Regions from separate parts of the Homo sapiens genome. Here region 2 is linked to region 1. Evidence: promoter capture Hi-C in human tissues and cell types (Jung and others, 2019). All regions are on one chromosome and are shown on one strand. The core of a region is centred on a gene start or on the middle of the fragment in contact, and the rest is flanking DNA. Distances in the headings are between cores, read along the strand shown.

Region 1 (7,504 bases), core at 4,505-7,004:
TCTCATAGGAGGTCAATCAACTGGCTTAAAGATGCTGAGTGAGGGGACAGGTGCAAAGGGCCTAAATTGAATGAGAAACATATACAACGAGAGGGGATCCCAGGAGTAATTTTTTGGTAGCCTTGATGAGGCCTGAGGGGGTGGCAACTGCCCTCAGTACAGGAAGGAATGCCTTGTGAAACTGGTCAGCTGTCATGGTGAAACTGCAAAAAAGGAGGGGAGCTGGTCCCAATGTCAGGCAGTTGGCTGAAGTCAGCAGAGGAGCAAGTCTTCCAATCTTTGTTTTTCCAGGGCTGGTTTCTGTTCAACTTGTAGGAAAAAAGTCTGGTATTGGTTAGTAAGGAAGGAGACCAGGACCAACCCCTCATCTTGTCATGTTTGGGAATCTTAGTTTTTCATGTTTTTCTGGGGTCTACTTGGTCGAGGGGGGTTCTGTTCAGCCAGTTTAGGGGGCTTAGAATTTTATTTTTATTTCACAGGCACAACCAGCACAGCTGCTTTGGTAAGTCAGTGACATTAAAAAAAGAAATGTGTGGCAGGGCGCGATGGCTCACGCCTATAATCCCAGCACTTTGGGAGGCTGAGGCAGGAGGATCACGAGGTCAGGAGATCGAGACCATCCTGGCTAACACAGTGAAACCCCGTCTCTACTAAAAATACAAAAAATTAGCCGGGCGTGGTAGTGGGCGCCTGTAGTCCCAGCTACTCGGGAGGCTGAGGCAGGAGAATGGCGTGAACCTGGGAGGCGGAGCTTGCAGTGAGCCCAGACTGCACCACTACACTCCAGCCTGGGCAACAGAGCGAGACTCCGTCTCAAAAAAAAAAAAAAAAAAAAAAAAAAAAAAAAAAGAAATGCGCTAGAGCAAGGGATTGGTAAACTAAGGCCCACAAGCCACTGCCTACTTTTGTTTGCCTCTAAGCTAAGAATGACTTTACATTTTTAAATAGTTGAAGAAAATCAAAAGAATATTTTGTGACACATCAAAATTATAAGAACTTCAAGTTTCAGTGACCGTAAGTTTTACTGGAACATAGCCACACCTATTTACATACTGTCTATCACCTGCTTTTGAATGACAAGGTGTGAGATAGGAAAAAATGCAAACTGCTTTCTCCTACAGTATTCTCATACTCACAATACTCTGAATTTTTTGTTTGTTTGTTTTAAGTAGAGATGGGGTCTCACTTTGTTGCCCAGGCTGGTCTTGAACTCCCGGGCTCAAGCAGTCCTCCCACCTTGGCCTCCCAAAGTGCTTGGATTACAGGCGTGAGGATTCACTTCTGACGTCAGGTATGTGTGGGGTTTCCTCTCCCAACAACCAATTCTCTGACACCAGCTGGGTGACCTATAATTTAACTCAATTCTCACACTATCTACCTGGATATAACATCAGACCGCAGAGGTCAAGGGCTCAGTCCCACAAGACTCTCCCCATTTCAGATACCAATTACAAGCAGTAGGTTCCCAGGTTACCCACAACTTGTCTAACTTGGCTACAATAAGAGGTTCCCACAACCCCCTTCTCAGGTTTGATCATTTGCTAGAGCAGCTCACGGAACTCAGGAAAGCACTTTACTTATTACCCATTCATTGTAAAAAGATGCCATTCAAAAACGGCCAGGTGGAAGAGACACATAGAGACATGTATGGGTTTTTATAGAGGCTTCACCATGTAGGTATGATTGATTAAATCACTGGCCATTAGTGAACAACTCAACCTTCAGTTTCTCTCCCCTTCCCCAGAAGTGGGAGTGGGTGGGAGGGACTGAAACTTCCAACTCTCTAATCACATGATGGGTTTTCCTAGGCAAACCCCCATCCTGAGGCTATCCAGGAGCCCCCAGCCATCAGTCATCTTAGCAGCATACAAAAAGACACTTAGCACTTAGGAGATTCCAAGGGTTTCAGGAGTTGTGCACAAAGAAATGGGAGCAGAGAACACACACGTATTTACTATTACATCACAGTACACAAAAGGGCAGAGTTGAATAGCTGCAATAGAGATCACGTGGCCCTCAAAGTCTAAAATATTTACTATATGGCCCTTTAAGGAAAAAGTTTGCAAACCTCTGCACTTGATTCAAAAATTTAAGGAACAACCAAATGTGTGGCTCTAAATGGGATACCATTTTGGACATGACCACCAAGGGACATTTTTGGAACAACAGGAAAAATTTGAGTATGATTTTGGTACTAGTTAAGATGAACATTTCCTGAAATGGAAAGGTGGAGACTGTGATTGAAAAAAGCAGAGCACAAAAGAGTAGCCTCAGTATGATCTTATTTTGTTTGGTATGCCTACAGAAGATCTGGAAAGATAGACATGGTGGTGTTATGTGTGATTTGGAGGAACTGTATTAATCTGCTTTTGCATTGCTATAAAGGAATACCTGAGACTGGGTGATTTATAAAGAAAAGAGGTGTATTTGGCTCATGGTTCTGCAGGTTGTACAAGATGCATGACACCAACATCTGCTTTTGGGAGGATCTCAGTAAGCTTCCAATCCTGGTGGAAAGGGAAGGGGAGCCAGTGTGAACTCATTACCACAGGGAGGCCATCAAGCCTTTCATGAGGGATCCACCCCCATGAGATGGATGTTGGGAAGTGACCCAAACACCTCCCACTGGACCACCTCAACATTGGAGAGCAAATTTTAACATGAGATTTGGAGGGGACAAATATCTAAACTATATCAGGAATGGAATATGATGTTTTTATTTTCACTGTTGTTTGTATTTTGCATTTTCTTCTTGCACAGATATTTCTCATTTTTTGGTGTACTATGTAGTCTAAGATCAATGCAGTAGAGATTCTGGCATATAATAGTTACAGGTAGAAGTATTTTTGAGAGTGGAAGAGTTTGTAAATAACACCCAGGGAATAGAATTCCACTTGTGGAGACAGAAAAGAGAGTATAAGCTGGGCTAAAGAAATTCTCATGCTGGCCAGTGGCTCCACGTGTAATCCCAGAACTTTGGGAGGCGGAGGTGGAAGGACTGCTTAAGGCCAGCAATTCAAGACCAGCCTGAGCAACATAGCAGGACACAGTGGTCTACAAAAAAAAATTAGCCTGGTATGGTGGTGAGCACCTCTAGTCTCAGCTACTTGGGAGGATGAGGCAGGAAGATCACTTGAGCCTAGGAGGTCAATGCTGGAGCCATGATCTAAGCCACTGTACTCCAGCCTAGGTGACAGAGCAAGACCCTGTCTCAAAACAAACAAAAACCCCCACTGTTGGGGTATAGTTCTAAGGGGCAGCCACTTGTTATGCAAGTAGAAAAGAGAGAAATGTAGAAAGAATTACAATGGTCAGCTGTCTTAAACCAAAATCTAAGGTAATTTTCATAAAATGGGTTCAATTTTTCATGCAATTGTCCCATGTGAAGCTTGTTCCAGGGATTTAATATGATGTTTTTCAAAATATTGTTCAGAACTCATTATTAGGCTAAGAAATTAGTCTAGCGATTCATGGGCAGAATTTTTTAAATGACACAAACTGAAAGATTAAATATCAGAGTAAGTCATATACCAAGGATAGAATGCATAATATGATCTCATTTCTGTTTCAAAAGGAAAAAAAAAAACCTTGATATGTTGTATTTTTATGAATCTGTATAACAATCTATTAAAAAATTAGGGAAGGCTATACTTCAAACTTTTAATATGGTTACTTTAGGAGAGTGGGGCTAAAGGAAACCATACAGAAAAAAATTTATTTCAATTATTTATTCCAATAAAGTCACCTTCTTTAAGAAGTCTTTTCTTGCTTATTTTATCTGATGCTAATCCCTTTACTAATTTTCTTATCACCTTAGCACTAAAGCCACTCATTCATACTTTCCCAAACAGTCATTGTACTACGCCCCTAGGAAAAAAATATAAATACCATACCAGTATCTGCCTTAAGAGTTTGATCTAGTGGGAAAGGCATACTCATATTTAATTATAAATAATGTGGTATAAGTTTTAAGGAGTGAGTAGGCAGACAGGCAACAGGGTAGTTGGTAGGCAGAGGAATATTTTGGCCCCAAACTGCCACTCTAAAACCTTGTCAGAGGTAACAAACAGCATGCACAAGTGTTTATAGAGCAGCCCAGGGATGGGCTAGAAAAGTGGGCAGGACTGGACCACAGAAGGGCTTTGTATGGTGTGTAAGCATTTAGGCTATCCTGAGGAGCGTAAATGAAAGATTTGAAGCAAAAGAAACATTTAGCTGATTTGATTTTTAGATACACCAAAATGGAGTCTACATGGAGGATGGATTTAAGACATTAACTTGAGGCAGGAATTTGGTTGTATAACATAAACACACTTTTAAAAAGTTATGTGGCCTTTCTTTACGGAGTACTTCATGGCTCTTTATTCCATCTCCCTCATCAATTATATCAAAGGTTAGGATGGAAAGGCTAAGACACGGCAATGTCTTATTTGACAACCCCTCCCCAAACCCCTACTCCAGGCTTTCCCACAGCAATTTCAAAACCTTTTTCCTGGCACTTAACATATTCTCCCCTGCATTTGCTTTTGACTGTACAGTACATAGGTCTTAGGTCTCCAGTCTGAAAACTGCACCACTAGATTTTACAGTTCCACAGGACTTAGCACAACGTCTTTGAAAAAAAAAAATACTGCTTAAATAACTCTCAGATCTAAATGTATAATCCTAATCTCTTGATTGCCAGACCACATTCCCAATTGCCCAGATATCTCTACCTGGATGTCCTATAATTATCTCAAACTTAACCTAATCCAAATGGACCTGGGTACCTCTCTTCACCGCCAAACTAGTCATGCTTCCATTTCATATTTAAGTACTTTTCCAAACCCTGAGTCATCTTTGTTCACTCTCTACTACCGGCCATGAACACTCAGCTGCTAAATGCTGCACACATCTCTTCCATTTCTCTCTCTTTTCCATTACCCTAGTTTAAGCTCTTGAAATGCTTCCCTACCTCTCCCTATTTCCCACAAAACCTACATAATAGCTATCAGGATTACCTTGCTAAAGCAGAGGTGTGATCACTGTCATTTCCCACCTTCAGGTAGCTGGAAACCCCACAAAACGAGGATCATGCCCATTTAAATCCCGCAGCATTCTCCCTCTCGTTCTACTGATGCCGACTGGATCATTGTACTTGCCAAGTACAGTTTGTTTTTCTCCCCATTACTTGTGTTTTCTAGTTTCTCCACCAGATGGTGATGACAGTACAACTGGGAGCTTTGTGCCCTGTGTTCCTAGGCCAGTGCCAGGCCCACTTGAGGCGCTCACTAACTATGATATGAACGAATGAATGCTTGAGTGAATTGGTCCCCAGAAGCGGTCAGCCTCTCCGCCAAGGCAGAGGGGAAGGGCCGGGAGGTGCACGTGGGATGAATGGAAACATAGTGATTGGCCTTTTTGGAGTTTTCTTCTTAAAAAACTGAATACATTACAGATGTTGAAAACAGCACAAAAATCATAACTGTACGGCTTGTTAATTTTTACAAATAAATACACCCTCGTGAATCCAGAACCTAGATCAAGAACCAGAGCATTACCAGCACCCAGAAACCTCCCCGCGCCCTCCTCCACTGAGCGGCCCTTTCAACCCTTACAATGCCGGAGGGCGCAATTCCTGGGTCCTGTGACCTTGGTGACCGACGCCCGGGACAAGTCAGAAAGACCCAAGGGCGTGGAAAACGCTCCTCTTACCGATAAACTTGAAGCGACTCATGACTGCGCATGGAGGACCTCCCCAGCGGAAGCGGAAGTGGCCGCCGGCAACTCCGCCCTTCCGGCTGGCCCCGCTCAGTCACCCGCAGCAGGCGTGCAGTTTCCCGGCTCTCCGCGCGGCCGGGGAAGGTCAGCGCCGTAATGGCGTTCTTGGCGTCGGGACCCTACCTGACCCATCAGCAAAAGGTGTTGCGGCTTTATAAGCGGGCGCTACGCCACCTCGAGTCGTGGTGCGTCCAGAGGTAAGGGATGGGGACCCAGGACTCGGGGAGGTGACCCTCGGGGCCCCATGGAGGTGGAGAGGCCCCTGGGTACCTGGAGGTTCAAGGACTTCGGGAACGGAATTGGAAGGTGGCCTCTCGCTTCACAGAATCCTATGGTAGACCCGGGTTCAAATCCAGGCTTCGCCACTTATGGCCGGGAGACCTTGTAGAGTTGCTTGTCGGGTCTGGGCGTCAGCTTTTTGTTTAGTAAAACGGACGCACGACCAGCGCAGAGGGTCGCAGGAAAATTAAGTGAAATAAAGGAAAGTGCCTAAAATTGTAATTGTCATGGGTCCAGCGCTCGCTCAATCGTTTTCTTCACGATCTTCTCCTTTCCAATATTAACAGCAATAAACTATGCATTATTTTCTTCAGTCTGCAAAACTCTAGGAGTTAGGAATTATCTTAAGCTTATTTTACAGATAAGAAGATGAGCACAGCTGGTAACTTGCGCAAGGTGATAGAGTTTCTAAGTGTCTGAGCCAGGGTTAAAATTTAGGTCTTTCTCCAAAGCATCATCATTCTCCCACCCCTCCCATTAGCTTTTCTCTTTTTAGCTTCATCTAGTCCTTTTCATTACCTTTACATCTTTTTCACCTCTTACATAATTCTCTTTCGACCTCTATCCGTCTGAGACTAGTCTGAGAACATAGTGTTAAAATGTGTAGATTTTAATCACCTAAATTCATTGCAGGGTGGGCTAACAACCCAAGATGTGTGAGTGCCTCGCCTCCACTCCAGTCTTACGACTCTCCAAACGTAGTTTTATAAGAAGGCCTTCTGGGAAAAAAACTCTATGGAAAATGGAGTAGGCCTGGAAGAATTACAGAGGGTACCCTCGAAGCCCAGATTGCATATATGTGACTATTAGAAAATCACTGACATACTTCTCTTGATTTGGCAGGAAGATGGCCAAGTACAATGTGATGGGATTGTTAGTTTCTTCCTTGAGTTTTCCTTATTTATTTATTGATTTGACAGAATTTGCAATTCAGATTCTATGCTCTATGCTAAATATATAAATGTTAGTAAATCCATTTTTGAGCAGCAGCAGCTCACGGATTAGTGGGGAAAATGGACATGTAAACAAATCGATGATGAAGGAAGTTGAGCCATCAGGGATTCAGGTATCCCAACACAAATGGTAAATGTTTGAGGTGATGAATATCCAAATTACCCTGATTTGATCATTATACATTATATGGATGTATTAAAATATCACATGTACCCCATAAATAGGTACAATAATTATGTGTCAAAAAAAGTTAAACATGAAAAAAAGAATTCAAGCAATACTGAACTATAGCTGGGAATACTAAAGTCCATAGTTCTAGAGGAAAATGATATAAACTAGCTACTATGACAGTTATGGCTCAGCATTTTTTAGATCTGACATTCTTTCTCAATCCTTGCCTTAATTTCTTCCTCCATTTGCCCTCATTGTGCTGTTCTCTGTGGTTCCATCCTAGGCATACTGTGTTGTTGTATGTACTCGGGCAGCCTCATTTAGTGCTGTCACCACCTGC
Region 2 (7,504 bases), core at 2,721-5,220, 1.1 Mb after region 1:
GCACCAGTAGTCCCAGCCACTTGGGAGGCTGAGGCCGGAGGATTGTTTGAGCCTGAGAGATCAAGGCTGCAGTGAGCCATGATCGCACCACTGCACTCCAGCCTGAGCAGTAGAGCAAGACCCTATCTCAACAAACAAAAACAAAAACAAAAAAATAAAACATTTAGTCATTAGCCACTTTATTTTAAAGTGTACTAGGAAAAGTGTAGGTTATTGTTTTTGTTAAAGAAGAGGGTAAATTTTAAAAAAGGAGTTAATTAAAAGTATTAAGTACAGGTGGTTTTCAAATGCAGAACATATCATACATGTTGTAAAATGTGAAAAAATCAACAAAGTTTGGGTAACTTTTCCTTAGAATGCATTTCTTCCCAGGAGGCTTAATGACTTATGCAAATAGATTCTTATAGGTCCACCCTATAGGTCTTCCAGGCAAACTTTAAGGGATTTGAAAACTAGGATAAATACAGTTTAAACTGTCCTCCAACAGAAGTACACAGTTGCATATGAAAAAACATGGCACATCTTCCTAAGCTTTGTTTCCATTTGAAGACATGAAGAGTTAAACTATCTGACCAGTAAATATTAAATAAATTCTTATATAAAAACATGTTGGGATACATTATAGAATAAATGCAAATGCAAATGTCACAAGAATTTCTAAGGTAAAAATATGTGACTGCAAAGAAATTGTATAGTTGGTGGTGGTGAGCTGTATTTGTGCCTTCTAGTGGTGGAATGGGAGGGTATGAGATGAGGGTATTCTGGCAGAGAATGTGACAGTTGCTAAAGTTAAGGCAGAGACTCTTATTGTGGCACCTACTTCAAGGTGGCCTCTATGATCCTTACCTCCCGGTGTTCATGCTGTTGTATAATCTCCTTCTGTCGATTGCCTGAGGAACTGTGACTTGCTCCTAGCCCACAGAATATGGCAAGGGGGATGGAATGTCACTCTTGTGATTGAGTTATGTTATATCAGATTCTGTATCAGAGACTCTCCTTGTGGGCTGGATGAAACAAGCAACCATGTTGGGGAGGCCTGCATGATGGGGAACTGTGGGGGCCTCTAGGACCTGAGGACGGCTTCTAGCCAACAGTCAGAAAAAAGCCAGGACCCTCACTAAGAGAGCCACAAGGAAATGAATTCTGCCAACAACCTGAATGAGCTTGGAAGTTGATTTTTCCCCAGTTAAGTTTCCAGATGAGGATGCAGCCTGCCCGATACTTGAGCCATAGCCAGATGAGACCCTAATTGGAAAACCCACTTAAGCCATGCGAAACTCCTAACCCGCAGAAATTGTGAGAAAATAAATGACTGTTGTTTTAAACTTCTACGTTTGTGGCAATGTGTTACACGGCAATAGAAAAAAAAAAAAATCGAAAACCAAAAAGAAAATACATCCACTATAAGGCACATGTGAAAATTTAAAAAACACTCAAGATACAGCACATTAGGTGAAATAATTTTGTTTAAAAATTGTCTTTGGGCTGGGCGTGGTGGCTCATGTCTGTAATCCTAGCACTTTGGGAGGCTGAGGCGGGCAGATCACCTGAGGTCAGGAGTTCGAAACCAACCTGGCCAACATGATGAAACCCATCTCTACTAAAAATACAAAAAAATTAGCCAGACGTGGTGGCAGGTGCCTGTAGTCTCAGCTACTTAGGAGGCTGAGACAGGAGAATCACTTGAACCTGGGAGGTGGAGGTTGCAGTGACCAAAGATTGCGCTGCTGCACTCCAGCCTGGGCAACAATGAGACTCCGTCTAAAACAACAACAACAACAACAGCAACAACCAAAACAACAAAACTGTTTTTATAGATTCCAAATACTTACACATTTTTCAGGACAAAACTCCCAAAGTTAAATTTAAAAAGTCTTAGTGGAAAATAGGCTTACTGGAGCCCTCTTAGCCAGTGTTTTAAACATGTAACATCTGCAGAGCTAAGTAAAGGGCACCCTTTTTGATGGAGATGAGGTGTACATCTAGGATGAGAAGGACACTCATTGAATAAGTTATTGAGAACATGCCTTGCCTCAGGTAAGCAAATATTTTCTGAGGATCATGCAGGAAAAAAATTACAGAGTACTCTGATCTATTTTTTGCCTTTAAGTTTGGGAGCTGGAAGGAAAAGGATCAAAGAGTATAGTAGTAAGTTGACATTGAATGAACCAATGAACAGCTCCATCTTGGCCCTGAGGAGTCTAATTAATTGGTTTTGGAGAGCTTCACACTAGCTGGCTATGGGCTCTTGTAGGACTCACTTCATATTTATGGCTGGGGATAATATGAGGTGAGTGAGGCACTAACTTTGGGTGCTAAATTTAAGGGATGCTGAAAACCTCAGTAATCAAGATAAATTAAATTTTAAAGCAATGATTTAAAATTCAAAATCACTGCCAAAAGATGATGAACAAATTGTCAAACTTTTAAATAAAGACTGGCTCTAGCCTTGGATTTGTACAACCTGACTTCATTGGTCTCATCGTAATCCTGGCCCCTAACAGGCAATAAAGCCCTTGGAAAACCCAGGAATAAGGTGGAAGTCTTCAATACCTGGGAGATTATGGGAACGCAGGAGTTTGGGGTGTGATTGGAAAAAGTCCTGGAAGATTTCAGTGGTAGTTGTTCTGTTGAGAGAGAGCACTACGCTCTGTTGAGAGAGAGCACTACAAGCAAGAGGTTTCATGCTTGTCAGTTTTGTTCCATATTGTATTTCAGTGCCAATGTCTATTTAATATAGTTGTATTAGTTAAATTATTTATGCCGTTTTTAAAGAAAGGCTATTTTTATTGAATTATTTTTATTTTTATTTTTTTGGTTTGGGCTTTCCCAAAAGCAGATCCCAGACAAGGACTTGGGTGCCAGCAGTTAATTTGGAGGTGATACTAGGAGGCTCTGGTAGGGGAGTGAGGAAGGGAGTCAAGGAAGGCAGGAGGCCGCCAGTAAAGGGTGCATGACTGAGTAGCTGCTGCTGCACTCATCTGAGACTCAACTGTGCTGAGAACTCCATTGAGAAACAGAATGGGACATATCTCAGAATTGTCCACTTGGGGCTGAGGCCACTAGGGCATTTATCTACTAATGCTTGTCCTTTATTAGTTGGAAGCATTATCTCCCTGGTCTGCCCTGAGAGAGGGCCAAGTGCATTCCTGTGGCAGATAAAGACCACAGTCCAAGAGATGTAGGAACTTAGAGTAAGAAGGTGGAGGAGTATACAGGAGCTGTCACCCAACTGCAGGTGACCTGTGGGATGTGCTAATGGGATGAGCACAGAACAGTGATGTGCATGTAGTGCAGCCATAATATTCAAAAAGAATAACAGCCTATAATAGGACATGCCTCTTCAAGCACATTGGATGACCAGGGCTCATTTGGAGGGATGGTCTTCCAGGTCAGGAGACACTGTGCAACTCAAGGATGCTGTTGGAGTCACAACCAAAGAAGTATATGTCATCTTGCAACTGGGAACTAGCCTTTGGCCTTTCTTTGTTGGCTACCTTTAGTTGGTTGGATGCTGGACCTGTTGATGACCAGACAGCAGTGACAAGACTAAGAAGGCCCAAGGCAGGGCTCCAGAGGAGATTCTGAAGCCATCACAAGCTAGACCCATCTCTGAGACTCTTAGAGTCTTCCTATAACAAGTATCCTTTGCACTAAGGGTAATTACCTCCTCTGTAAAACATGGCAGGTGGTTGAGATTAAGAGTAAAAATAAATTTCCTTGGCCTGGAAGGGAGGGAACTGGTTAAATATTAAGATTTGACTTAATTCCTTAGTAGCCAGACTGTGAACAGAAAGAAAACATAGAATTACATTTTGTACTTGGGTCACTTGTATAATCAGTGTGATTAATAATTGCTAATGTTTTTTATTGATGACTACATGTTAGGCACTGTACCATATACTTTACATTCCAGACCTCACTGAATCCTTCCAACAACACAGTAAGAGAGGTAGCCTACATATTTCCAATTCACATATGTGGGATCTGAGACTCAGAGAGGTTAAGTAACTTGCAAATGTCCTGGGAATAGTGAGGGGTAGAACAGCCATTTGAAGCCAGGCACAACTCTACGAACCTGGGGAAAAGTTCCATAAGATGACTGCTACAATTGTGTATGCCTTCTGAAATGCTTTGCCTATAGGTGGGCCAAGGGGTGAACTGCATTGTGATTTTTAAGTTGAGGTCTTTGGTTTCATAAAATGGCTAATGTGAGAAGACTGTCAAGACATTTGATGTTGCAGAAAGCTGATGCCAAGTCTCTGGGTGTGTGTGGAAGTATCCGTGTGTGTCAAGTGGTTGAGATAGCCCCTGCAGACCACCTCGTGCCCTAACATTCCAAATGCGGCTCAGACTTCCCAAGAACAGGCCATCTTCTGTGGGATGGGAGCTCTGGAGCAACGATGTCCTGTGAGTCAGGTGACTGATATGCTTATTTTTGGGTCCCACCCTTTGCTGGCTGTTTGACTTCAGGCAAGGGACTTAGTCACCAGGGAACCTACTTTTCTCATCTGTAAAATGATGATAATGAGGCCCGACTCCTACCTTCCTCACAGGGAGGGCAGGAAGCTTCCTGAGATCACCTCACCAGAGCCTTTTGATCTGCTTGAAAGAATCCTCCTTAATTGCCCAGTCAGGCACTCCAGCGGCTGGGCGAAAGTTTTATGACCCAGGATTCCCACAGCCCGTAATACACACGCTCCCAGAAGCCCTCTTAGGTTTTCAATGACAGATTCAGCTGCCGAACATTCTGCCAGGCCATCACCAGAGATTTCTCAAAGCCTTAGTCATATAATAGGCGGTTTCCCAGGGGTGCTTTTGCCAGTGCTTCCACTGATTCATGTCGATTCCTTTAGAGCTCCTATGAACAGTTTCCCAGCCCTTCCCAGACTGGTCCACAGCAGTCAAGTCTGGCCTCATGGAATGCTGCCAGTCTTCAGGTCACAACCAAGATGTACTTTTGAACATCTGCTTTCGGTTTTTTAAAGGGTTCTTTAAATGAGTAGTGTGCTTGCTTTCCCATTTCTTGTCTGCACCGTCACGAAAGCCTTCTAACATATTTGTCTGTCTCCAGCCTTGCTCTCTCCCTATGTTCGTGCATTGCAACCTGATAAGCAGGATATATTTCTTCCTCAAACTCATCGTGGAGTCCCCTCCTTGTCCGCAGAATGAAAATCAAACACATTAAATCCAAAGTCCTGCTCCTTTGCCCCCAACTCCCAACTCAAAATCTGGACCCAAGTTTCCTCTCTTCCCTCATGTCTCACCTCTTCCCATTGTTAGGTCATTTATTCAGTCAATCTTTGCTGTCACCTCCTATATTGCAGGTGCTGCATTAAACTCTGGGGAAAAAAATCATGTGCCCCAACCCCCATGAGGCTCCCAGCATTGTGGGAGATGCAGGCCATAAGTGAGCAAGCACAGGCAGCTTGATCAGTGTGGTGCTGAATGTGGAGGGGCTCTAATAGCCCACTGGAGGGGAGGCTGCATCTGCCTGGGGCGAGGGCGAGATGTCCAGCACTTAAGGATGAATAAATAGGATGTTGCCTGACAATGAGTCAGGGGTGGGAGTGGGGAGTGGAAAACATGGCCCGAGCGTCCCAGCAAGAAGGACTTAGATGTGAGAGACAGTATGAGGAGTTGTGAACTGACACAACGGTGGCAATTTATGGCTTGGGAAGAAGCCCAGTTCCTGAATGCCCTGGTGAGCCTTGTTAAGAGATCTGGACTTTATCCTGAAAGAAAAGAAACCATAAGCCGGGTGGTGATGTGGTCCCCACCCTCCCGACTTGGCAACCTGTCAGGTGCTCTTGGACTCCCAGGTCTCTGCCAGGGCTGGTCTTTCTTTGTTCTTCCTTATTCCCCCTCTCCCTTTCCTCCTCCTACTGTGGCACCATCTTTCATGAGTCCATTCAAATGCCATCTGTTTTTTGAAGACCTCCTGGATCCCAGGGTCAAATGAATTATTCCTGTGGGCACCTGGAGTTCATTGCTTGTACGTTACCATTTATCACATTCTACTTTGTATTTTATGGTACTTGTACCTGTTCATCTCGCCAACTGGACTGAAAACTCCTTAAAGGGCATATTTATTCTGGAATATTTATCTCTACACTTCCCACAGCACCATAGCATATGGTGCTTTGAGCCAGGCCTCCCTTCAAGCTCTGGGTTCCATTGCTTATTAGTTCTGTGATCTTGGACAAGTCACTTTATCTCTGAGACCTTGAGTTGCCTCATCTATAAAATGGGGGCAATGTTTTTTATTGCATAGGTTAATTGGAGGATTAAGTAAAGTACCTTGTTAACACTCAATAAACATTAGCTGCTGTCCTCCTCCTTCTGGTTTCTGGCTCAGGAAGATTGCCGCAACACCTTGGGAGAGCATCCCTGAGGGAGGGAAGCCTCACTTTTCCCATGGGCCCAGAGGGAGTGCTGGGTGCATGAGCAAGATCCCGTCTGCACTTGCTTGCTGAGTGCCCAGGGAGAGAGGTGGAATATAAGCGCTATTGTGTAGAGTCTTGGTTATCACAACAGTTGTTGCCACCCATTCTAATCTGATCATTTCTTTGACGTCTTCTATGTGACATTTCCTTAATGTGAACAAAAAGAGAATGTTGAGGTGATTTTCAAGAAACAAATTAAATAATATGAGTCTCCTTGTCTAGGATTATGACTTAAATCATGGTGCCCTCCCAGGGGGAAGAGAAAATAGTGATCTGCCAATCAGTCTTTCCCTTTTCTACTTGGTTGTTGGTCAGCCCATGTATAGAATCTGTACCGTGAGATTACAAGGGTCTTTGTCATGGTGTGGTTGTCATTGTCATTACTAGTAGCAGCAGCAGCAGCCTTCTATTCTTCCTCCTCCTCCTTCTCACTGCCATTTGGGTGGGATGCAGGATGGATACCCTCTTCCTCACCTCCCCTGCCATTCTCTAGAGACCCAATCTGCACGTGTGGCCTCATAGGTCACTGTACTTTTTTGACACACACAGCAGCCCCAGCAGGCAGGCAGAGCAACCGCTCTCATCTGAATTGCCAAGGAAACTGTGGCACAGAAAGTCAATGACTCGCTCACATCACAGCACAAGCTGGAAGTTGAGTGGGGCATGTACAGGGCTGGGGTGGAGACCCTGGTTACCTGAAACCTGAAGAGGGTGATTTGAAAGAGAGAACAGCCTTGTTTCTCGGCAGCTGGCTCTGGTTTTCTGTTGATAGGACATCACCATGATGTCTGAGCAATTTTTTAAGTCCCAGTGGGAGTCAGTTCCTATTTCTGCCAATTTCTGGTTCTGTGTGCCTGAAACATATCAATGCTGGCTGCATAAATAAATATCGAGGGAGCAGAGGAAGAATGATAAGGAGATAAGGTTCACCTTTGGGTTTATGGGGCTGGTGTGATTTCTGGAATATTCCACAAATGCACCTTGCTTTCCTTCTTTGGCTCACAGAGGTGTGAAATTGCTTGTGCCTATTTGTCCTCTATGGGAAGTGCTAGGGACAG

The links. The method cuts DNA at HindIII sites, captures the fragments that hold promoters and counts their contacts. A contact is called where the count stands out against the background at its distance.
Region 2: a fragment that was not itself captured here is called in contact with the fragment with the promoter of TATDN1 in region 1 in 1 of the 25 tissues and cell types used here (small bowel).

Annotation. Positions count from the first base shown.
Region 1 is chr8:124,533,331-124,540,834 of GRCh38, forward strand. It overlaps TATDN1 (TatD DNase domain containing 1), which reads right to left and starts at 5,755. Exons shown (of 12, transcript NM_032026.4): 1 at 5,695-5,755. The coding sequence starts at 5,716. NDUFB9 (NADH:ubiquinone oxidoreductase subunit B9) reads left to right here and starts at 5,793. Exons shown (of 4, transcript NM_005005.3): 1 at 5,793-5,957. The coding sequence starts at 5,857. RefSeq lists an enhancer at 5,616-5,685. The HindIII fragment of the contact is 5,555 bases long and covers 2,944-7,504 here.
Region 2 is chr8:125,651,221-125,658,724 of GRCh38, forward strand. The region is part of intron 6 of LINC02964 (long intergenic non-protein coding RNA 2964); the gene reads left to right. Among named protein-coding and RNA genes, the nearest start is that of LINC02964, 140 kb to the left of the region's middle. RefSeq lists an enhancer at 3,881-5,080. The HindIII fragment of the contact is 8,617 bases long and covers 1-7,504 here.